Regions from separate parts of the Homo sapiens genome. Here regions 2 and 3 are each linked to region 1. Evidence: promoter capture Hi-C in 16 types of primary human blood cells and fetal thymus (Javierre and others, 2016). All regions are on one chromosome and are shown on one strand. The core of a region is centred on a gene start or on the middle of the fragment in contact, and the rest is flanking DNA. Distances in the headings are between cores, read along the strand shown.

Evidence for each region. The method cuts DNA at HindIII sites, captures the fragments that hold promoters and counts their contacts. A CHiCAGO score of 5 or more calls a contact.
Region 2: a fragment that was not itself captured here is called in contact with the fragment with the promoter of SRBD1 in region 1 in 6 of 17 cell types (endothelial precursors, M1 macrophages, M2 macrophages and 3 more); the score reaches 9.0 in endothelial precursors.
Region 3: a fragment that was not itself captured here is called in contact with the fragment with the promoter of SRBD1 in region 1 in 1 of 17 cell types (monocytes); the score reaches 5.1 in monocytes.

Annotation. Positions count from the first base shown.
Region 1 is chr2:45,609,646-45,612,711 of GRCh38, forward strand. It overlaps SRBD1 (S1 RNA binding domain 1), which reads right to left and starts at 1,622. Exons shown (of 21, transcript NM_018079.5): 1 at 1,574-1,622. RefSeq lists an enhancer at 1,273-1,442. The HindIII fragment of the contact is 4,677 bases long and covers 1-3,005 here.
Region 2 is chr2:45,937,987-45,941,052 of GRCh38, forward strand. The region is part of intron 2 of PRKCE (protein kinase C epsilon); the gene reads left to right. Among named protein-coding and RNA genes, the nearest start is that of PRKCE-AS1, 260 kb to the left of the region's middle. The HindIII fragment of the contact is 1,380 bases long and covers 773-2,152 here.
Region 3 is chr2:45,892,711-45,895,776 of GRCh38, forward strand. The region is part of intron 2 of PRKCE (protein kinase C epsilon); the gene reads left to right. Among named protein-coding and RNA genes, the nearest start is that of PRKCE-AS1, 220 kb to the left of the region's middle. RefSeq lists silencers at 1,301-1,473, 1,443-1,502. The HindIII fragment of the contact is 8,081 bases long and covers 1-3,066 here.

The DNA.
Region 1 (3,066 bases), core at 372-2,871:
ATTCTTTCCCACCTCAGGTACTCTCTGCCTGGAGTATTCTTCCCCCTGCTTGTCAATTGGCTGGCTCCTTGCATCCCTTAGATCTTAACATTTCAGGCCTAAAATAGGTTTCTCAATTATATTTTAAAAGGAGCCTATTTACTTCCTGTATACAGTAGGTTATAACACAATCTGTAATTATTTTTATTTTACTTGTTTATTGCTTGCACTGCTGTCAAGAGAGTAAATACCATGAAAGAAGGAAATGCATGTGCCTTATTCACTTCCATATCATAGAACCTAGCACTTAACAGATGCCCTACAACTATTAAATGAACATAATATGTACAAATATGGTCTCTACAGAGGAATATACATTTATTTTCCACCACTCTTAGGCAATGCCACACATTGCATTCATCTCTTTCTGAAGAAGTGATGGCACATAAGAATATTCCTATTCTTCAGTGACTTGGGATTTTTCCCTCCTTTCAAACTATCTTAATCACTGTAGGCACATGAGCATATTCCAAACCAATAATTTGGAGGTTGCTATGATGTTACTAAGGGAAGAGCCACTAAACTAGGACGACTGCAAATCAGGACAAAGGGGCAAAAGGACGTGCACACTAACAAATACTAAATTAAAATTGGAAAAAAAAATTTAAATTCAAGAAGGCAAACAAAGGAGGACAATTTCTTAAGAAGCACCTAAACAAGTTTCCATGAAGGACCAACAGAGTGCTTGAATGTTAGCAGATTCCCAAGTCACAAAAACAAAATACTAGAGCTGAAAGAACCTGAGATCAGACAGTCCCGCTATATTCAGAAATCTGAGACCCAATGAGGTGAAACAGTTTACTCAAAGGGGAAAGATATGTGGCAAAGGACTATAGCCCAGTGCCTGGAACACCAAGACTAGTCTCGTTTCCCATTCCACACACAATATGTTAATGACATGTCACGTGAGGGGTTCGAGGAAAGTTGCCTAGAGAGTTCCCAATTCATTCCTTTCCTCCGGTTACTGAGCGCCTCCTACATGCCAGGCGCACTACAGAAGGTGCAGTTGATTCAGACAGGGCCACCATGACCGTGAAAAGGGTGCTTCCTCTCCCACCTCCGATAATTTTAGGTATAAAAACAATCCAGGTAAATTAGCCGGGTGTGATGACGGGCGCCTGTAGCCCCAGCTACTCGGGAGGCTGAGGCAGGCGAATGGCGTGAATCCGGGAGGCGGAGCTTGCAGTGAGCCGAGATCGCTCCACTACACTCCAGCCTGGGCGACAGAGGGAGACTCCGTCTCAAAAAAAAAAAAAACAGGCTTGCCCAGGCTTTTCTATGTCTGTTATGCGCTAAGAGCTGCAGCAATTTGGCTGAAAAGAGGTGTCACGAGGTAGCTAGGAGGGGTTTTCGGGTGGTCGGTTGTGAGAGACCGCTGACAGTAAAATGTAATGAACTTCTCACTTTTAAAAAAGGGGTGTTATTGCCCAAATGAGCGCTCAGAACTTTTTTAATGGCCCCAAAGATCCCGGAGCCCGGACGCCGGGCTCTTGAGAACCCGCAAGACGACCGCCAAGGCGCACGCACAGCTCACCTTCCCGCCCGGCACGTCAGAAGACCCGAGATTCCGTGAGTGCCACCGCACCTTCCGGTTCCCGCCGGAAGTTTTTCAAACGCCAGAAGGTCCGCCTCGCTTCTTCCGGACCAAGTTAGCCACAGACCTCCAAGGCGCGGCGCTACCGAACGGGGCGGAGCCAGGCTGGACGGAGGCGGGGCTAGAGCGAGGATCCCGAGGGAGCGCCGGGGTGGGGCTGGTTCGTAGAAATGAAAAATGACTTTTTTTTTACGTGTTATTTACCAAGAACACTAAACTCTTAAGCCCACAGATACAGCCAAATAAATTAGATTATAAAAGTAGGGAAATAAGGCTGCTGTTGTCTACATTCGAATTTAGCAGATCAAAACCCCATGGATTTGTTTTAGAAAATTCTAAAAAGCAGCTTTCCACTGCTAATGACTTATTTCCAGGGACTCTGAGTACTGAAGAGCCTAGCAAGTTATTGAAATGACCTGTGACCGTGCCTTGTTGCAGATCTACCGGAAGTGAGCATAGATTTTACTGGATAATTTTTGTGATTGGGGGAAAAAAAAAAGGATTCTTTCTAAATTTAGTAAATCTAATCTTCTATATCTGAGATTGTTGGCCAGGAAAGATCAGTTTCCGAGATTGTTTAGGGATTTTTTTTTCCTTTTAATTAGCACAGTCGTATGTTGCCTTTAGTGATGGTTCCAGAAGGCCTAGAATTGTCTACTACAATCACAGTCTCCTTCACAATTTATGGTCCTGAAGAAATACTAGAGAACACCTTACCGTTCAGGATTGTGGGAAGAGAAACCAGATCATAGAAATCAACAACAATAATGTACTACTTACTATTCACCTACTTTTGATGTTGCATTTGCTACTCAGGTTTATGGTAAGGGGTTGTCTTGGTCAATTTTCTGCTGCTGTAACCAAATACCATAGACTGGTAGATTTATAAAGAAAGAGATTTGTTTGGCTTGTAGTTCTGAAGGCTGGGAAGTCCAAGACAGAGGGCATTATTGTTGTGTCAAAATATGATGGAGGGCATCATACTGGGGTAGGGGTGGGGGAGGCATGTGAACCCAATTGACTCCCGAAATAACTAACCCTCCTGTGATAATGGAATTAACTCATTCATGACCTAATCATTTCCTAAAGGTCCCACCTCTTCATACTATTACAATGACAAGTTTCAACTTGAATTTTTGAAGGGGACATTCCAATCATTGCAGAGGTAGTAAGGGTAAAGGTGAACTAATATACTGCAAAGTCTTTTGACATAAGTCCTGCCCTGGAGGAATTTACGACCAAGAGTAGGAACCAGATACAGCCAGAGGAAACAGACACCCAAGCAAAACAGTCTAGCTTCAAGGGTTGGGTATGCAGGTAGTAGCCACACTACAGTGAGGAGGAGAGTAAGAGTGGGCCAGCAAAGCATTGAAGCTTGACTTTCCTCTCCCCACAAGGGATTTTTGCCTTACAGCTGGGGAAGAAAAAAAAAA
Region 2 (3,066 bases), core at 213-2,712, 330 kb after region 1:
CTCTACAGTGAGAGTAGCCTTTACGTTACGCACCACTAATGTCACTCAGAGGGTCCCGACCCTTCCCCTTCGGCCTCTTCTTGTTCTCCTCCCTCTGTTCCTCTTGGATTCTCAGGAGCCAGTGTTAGCCCAGAAATGAAGAATTAAAGACTGTTCACACCCACATAGAACCATCTGCTCTCTTAGCCTCAGGGCAGGGCTGATGGGGGTGGTATTTAGTCTCTTGGAGGTGGTATTTAGCCCCTTGGAGAGGTGGTGCAAATATAGAAGCTGGTGTAGATGGCTTGGCTGGAGGGGGGCTATCTGGCAATTCAATGCATCTTGTGAGTTTTGGAGAACTAGGGTGACTATATCATTTATCCTCCAAGAAAGGACACAGTTGAGAATGATAAGTGACACTATACATAATTACTCTAAGAAAACAGGCAAAATCTAGGACTATCCTTAGTGACTTGGAACCTACATCCTCCCTACCCACTCTATAGATATCCCTGCATTTTCCACCTTGTGTCTGTGATTGACCTGTTGTGTCCCTTTCAACATTTCAGCGCCCACCCCTCAAACCCCCATCAAGCCTTGCAGCAGCTATTTATTCAGTTAGCAAACTTTTCCTGGCCTCCAATTTGCATTCTTTCCTAACTTATGGGTCCCTTCTCTTTTGCCTAGATGCTGCCTTTCCCTGGCTGTTTGACCATAAACTCATGGTATCATGCCTTATTCAGCAACTCTTAGAACAAAGTAAACAAATGTGCAAGTTTGCTTAAATTGAGAAAGCTTATATTTACAAAGTCGTGCCAGTTTTCTTTCTCACTCATCTACAGTTCTCTCAAACATTGGCCCTATTCCTGATGTATTAGATTGCAAACCCCTGAGGGCAGAGGCTGGGTGTTCTCACCCAGTTACACATGGTGGGCACCTCATTCGTAACTCTTTCTAGCACATTCAGCGCTCTGCCCTCTGGAGTCTTGCGGCTGAGTCAACACTCAGGAATCCAGCGCAGTAGGCTAATTCCACGCTGGCTCTGACCTCATCCAACCCTGCTGTCCCAGTGAAATCCAGCCCACAGCACCCTGCCAGGGTGGAGGAGGTGCCGGGCTATAAATCTCCCCGTTGTTTCTTCTCCCGGAAAATATAAAACCAAAACCAAACATTATACATTATGCCCTCACTCACAGAGTCACTTGGAGGCTTCAATAAGACAAGGGATATGGGTGTGTTTCGGGAAAGAAATTTGATACAAGTGCCAAGTGCTGTTATTGAAGACCTTAGGCATTTATTTTGGTAGCACCCCAATAGTGACAAGAGATGGGCTTGTCTAAAGCCAGCACTGCCACCTTCCCCTGTGTTCACCACTTCATTCCCTGATGTCTTACTGTCAGGCAGTTGGGCCTTGGAGCTGCCCTTCCTTCCGCATGTTGCTCTTTCATCATTTCATACCGTATTCTCCTGTAGAGTAGCATCTGGGCACCTTCCTTTGTCGAGGTTACTAAGACTTTCAAAGAGACATTTCAACCCCAAGTCACTAAGAGAAAATGTAATGCAGCAAGTGATTCCAATGGCAGTTAGTTAATGCACTTTTTTTTTTTTGAGAAGGCGTCTCACTCTATCGCTAGGCTGGAGTGCAGTGGCGCAATCTCAGCTCACTGCAACCTCCGCCTCCTGGGTTCAAGTGATTCTCCTGCCTCAGCCTCCTAAGTAGCTGGGACTACAGGTGCGTGCCACCAGGCCCAGCTAATTTTCGTATTTTTAGTAGAGACGAGGTTTTATCATGTTGACCAGGATGGTCTTGATCTCTTGACCTCATGATCTGCCTGCCTTGGCCTCCCAAAGTGCTGGGATTACAGGCGTGAGCCACCATGCCTGGCCCGCTAATGCACTTTTAAGGCATGCTTGCTGTAAATTGTTTTGGGAGTCTGCCGTCATTTCTGAGATGTGGGTGTAACCCAGCCCCTCACCATACTGGGCTGGCAGTGAATTGCCAGCAAGTGCATTCAGAAATATGAACATTCTCCCCTGCTTCCAGTACAGCCTCAGAGAGTCTCCTTGCTTAGTTGACCTGATGTTTTAGAACTTGTCTCTGCGTCTTCCTGCCTTCTTCTTTTTTGCGCTCACTTACTGGTTCCTGAAATTGGCATCAGCAATGCAAATTGGAAGCTTCCCTCAGACCTCTTTTCCAGTTCATCACCTGACATTTGCTTCAGGTAATCTGGCACCAGTCCTCAGCAAGATGTGTGTCTAGGAGTCTGGTGAGAGGCCAGATTAGGGGTAGCTGTGGCTTCAAGGAGTGGCCTGCAAAGTGGAATTTGGACACAGTGCCCAGAGTAGGCAAGATGAGCTACTGGGATTTGGGAAACAGACCTTCCATCTGTATTCATTTTCTTACCTATGAAGCAAGAACATGATTTAGCTTTAATATTTGATGTATGGATGGCCAGAGTATGTGTTTATAATTTATATGAAAACATTTCAAAATGTTGTTGCTGGTATATGCAGTCAAAAATATTTGGAGACGTCTGGCTTAGTAGGCCCAAGTCAGTCAAAGAAATGGAAGAAGCAGAGAACACGTTAATTGGAGCAAGAAGAAGATGATGACTTGTATCCAGGGCCAGGTACATTCACTGGTCCACACATACACTCTGTTCACACAGCGCACACTCTTGCGCTCACAAGTGTTCACTCTCACGTACCGCATGCATGTCACACATGCTTTCACTCCCACACATGCTTTCAAACACATACATATACCTTTTGCTTAATAACTTACAAGAATTAAAAAGTTGATAGGCACCTGGCCGGGCGTGGTGGCTCATGCCTGTAATCCTAGCACTTTGGGAAGCCAAAGCAGGCAGATCACTTGAGGTCAGGAGTTCAAAACCAGCCTGGCCAACATGGTGAAACCCCATCTCTATTAAAAATACAAAAAAAAAAAATTAGCCAGGCATGGTGACAGGTGCCTGTAATCCCAGCTACTTGGGAGGCTGAGGCAGGAGACTCGCTTGAGCCTGGGAGGTGGAGATTGCAGTGAGCCAAGATCATGCCACTGCACTCCAGCCTGGGTGACAGAGT
Region 3 (3,066 bases), core at 251-2,750, 280 kb after region 1:
TCTGTATAAATAAAAGTGAAAGTGGCATATGCTTGAGCAAAATTGGCCTAATGGGATATGGATTTACCCGACACACACTGATAGCAAATAGATTGTCCTTACAGCCTGCACCAGTATAGAACTTTGATATGTACCCTTCTGTTTGCAGAAAGAGCGACCAGAAATGTGCAGCAGTCAGTAATGTACCCCCCGGGGTTGCTGTTGATTGATGACTTCTCAAGGGCAGCATCTCCACGGGGCTCAGGGAATTCACCGTGAAAGTCAGCCTGGGCCTCCTGCCCACTTTCCCATTGCCTCATTCCGCTGCACAGAGAAGTGTTGAAAGGGGCTCTCCAAGATGGGCTGACTGTTTGCGACCCTCACAGAACCCTGCAGGCCATATTCACAGCAAAGTTCACATGCAGAAGAATGAGAAGGGAAAGTTAGGAAGGGTCAGAGCACATGCAGCGCTCAGTTGAGTAGTTTGGTGGAAAGAAGTGGCCTGTTCCTTCAGAGAACTTGGGGAGATTTGGTGATAGAAGGGCATGACCTGTGAAAATGACTGCAGTCCGGCAGGGTCAATGTGATGGACTCACAGGGAGAGGCTGTTCCTCAGGATCATCTCCCACAGCACAGCCTGGCTCATGTCTTTTCTTTTCTTTTCTTTTTTTTTTTTTTTTGAGATGAGGTCTCACCCTCTTGACCTCTTGCCCTCTCGCCCAAGCTGGAGTGCAGTGGCGCAATCTCGGCTCACTGCAACCTCTGCCTCCTGGGTTCAGGCAATTCTCCTGCCTCAGCCTCCTGAGTAGCTGGGATTACAGGCACCCGCCACCACACCCAGCTAATTTTTGTATTTTTAGCAGAGACAGAGTTTCACCATGTTGGCCAGGCTGGTCTCCTGACCTCAGGCAATCCGCCCGCCTCAGCCTCCCAAAGTGCTGGGATTACAGGCATGAGCCACCAAGCCCAGCCTGGCTCATGTCTTTCTGCTTGGGGCCTCCCCCAGTGCCCCGCTCTTCCCACCTCATGGGCCACTCTTATTTGCCCACTCATTGATCCCCCTGCAAATACTCACTTGAACTGCAGAGTTTTCTTAATGAACAGCCAGGCTTCCCAACTATGCGGTGAGCTCCTGAGGACCGGGGCTGGTCTGTTCTTTGTATGCTGGAGGGCTCTTTGCACTGTGCCAGGCAGCATATAGGAGGCCTCCTGGAGAGGCTGGGGCTCTATGGCCACAATCCTAGCCTCTCTGTTTCCGGGCAAGGGACTTCTAACTTAGGTCTCAGTTTGCCCATTTGTAAAATGGATATAAATGTACCCCAGATTAAAGAGGTAATGTGTAATGCCCCTGGGCATAGGAGGCACCCAAACACTGTCCTGATCCCTTCCATACCCTGCAGCCCATACACATTGTCGCACAGGGTTGGCACACATTAGGTGTTCAATAGTGCATGTCTGTTGACTAGTGGTAATGAGAGTTGTTGTGGTATCAGTTTTCGAAGATCTCTTAGAGCTGATTTTAGCCAGCAAGCACTCAGTAGCAGAATCACTGGGGGCGGGTTGGGGATAGGGAGTGATTAAGGAAACAGGTTGTTTAATAAAGGAGGATTGAGGAAACTGATTACTTTGAGCAATGAACACCTGGTTAATGCCAGGTAGCGACATCTTAAGGGAAAGGAAGTTGAGTCCAATAAGGAAGCCAATAAAAATCAAGAGGATAAACTTAAGATAGAGGGCAAACTAGATGGAATGCTCTGGGGAGTAGCGTCATTTAGTTAACACTGAAGAATCTCTTAAGATGACACATCTTTGCAGGGTGTGAAGGAAGGTGACCTTGGGCAAGTTACTTAGCTTACCTGAAATGTGGTTGTCTTCACTCTAGGATGAGGGTTGGTGATACATTTTCTGGAGTGGACGTGAGGATGTGTTGACGGTGCATGTGAAACATTCTCCATGATGCCTGGCACACACACACAGTAGTTCCCTTCCACTTCCTCTAAAGTAGAAGAAAGTTATGTGTTTTGCCTTTTGTGTTTTTCATTTGTTTGTTTGCGATGGAGTCTCACCATGTCGCCCAGGCTGGAGTGCAATGACGCGATCTTGGCTCACTGCAACCTCCGCCTCCTGGGTTCAAGCAATTCTCCTGCCCCAGCCTCCCGAGTAGTTGGGATTACAGGTGCCCACCACTGCGCCTGGCTAATTTTTGTATTTTTAGTAGAGACAGGGTTTTGCCATGTTGGCCAGGCTGGTCTCAAACTCCTGACCTCAGGCGATCTGTCTGTCTCAGCCTCCCAAAGTGCTGGGATTACAGGCATCAGCCCCTGTGCCCCCGTTCGTTTGTTTTGAGTGAACACATAAATGTCATCAATGATTCCGTCTCTACCTGGGTAAACTTCAGAACTTAAGCATTAGTTGTGAGCATTTGGCCACGTGGTAGGGAGAATGAAAAGGCGCCCAGGTGTCTCTTGAGAAAGGAAGGAAGTTTTTTTCAGGCGGAGTGGGTTGGATGAGGCACATGTTTCTAGACTACTCTCCATTTTATTTTCTCACTTCTGGCCACTGTCGGTTGTAGAGGTGCCCCTTCAGTACACACACAGCTACGGTAACAGTACCTCTCCATCCACAGTGACTTATATGGACTTAAGGGAGTTTCAGTCGGGGAAGAAAGTGGGACTTTTTCATTAAAACAAGACTCTGCTATACAATGAGGGGAGGCCTAACTGCCTCTCCGCACCCTGATGTCATCTGGCTGGTCCCTGGATGGTGGGGATACATGGTACAGCCACCCAAGGCATGGCAGCCATGTGGTGATTTAAAAAGGAATTAACTGTTAGGACACCAGGAAGTGCTCAATTAATTCTTCTTCAATTTGGTTAGAGGAAAAAAATGCTTTTCTGAGTTTATGCAAAATGATCATGTTTTATTCATTTGGTAGAAGTCACTCTAATGGCATGCAGGGTAGATGATGTCAGCTTTTCCATCTCAGCTGAATCAAATTGTACGGAGCCCTTAATCTCTGCTAGGGGCTGGGGCAATCCAGTGGAAAAGGATGGTCTCAATCTCAGTGCAGTAGGAAAGCAGGAATCA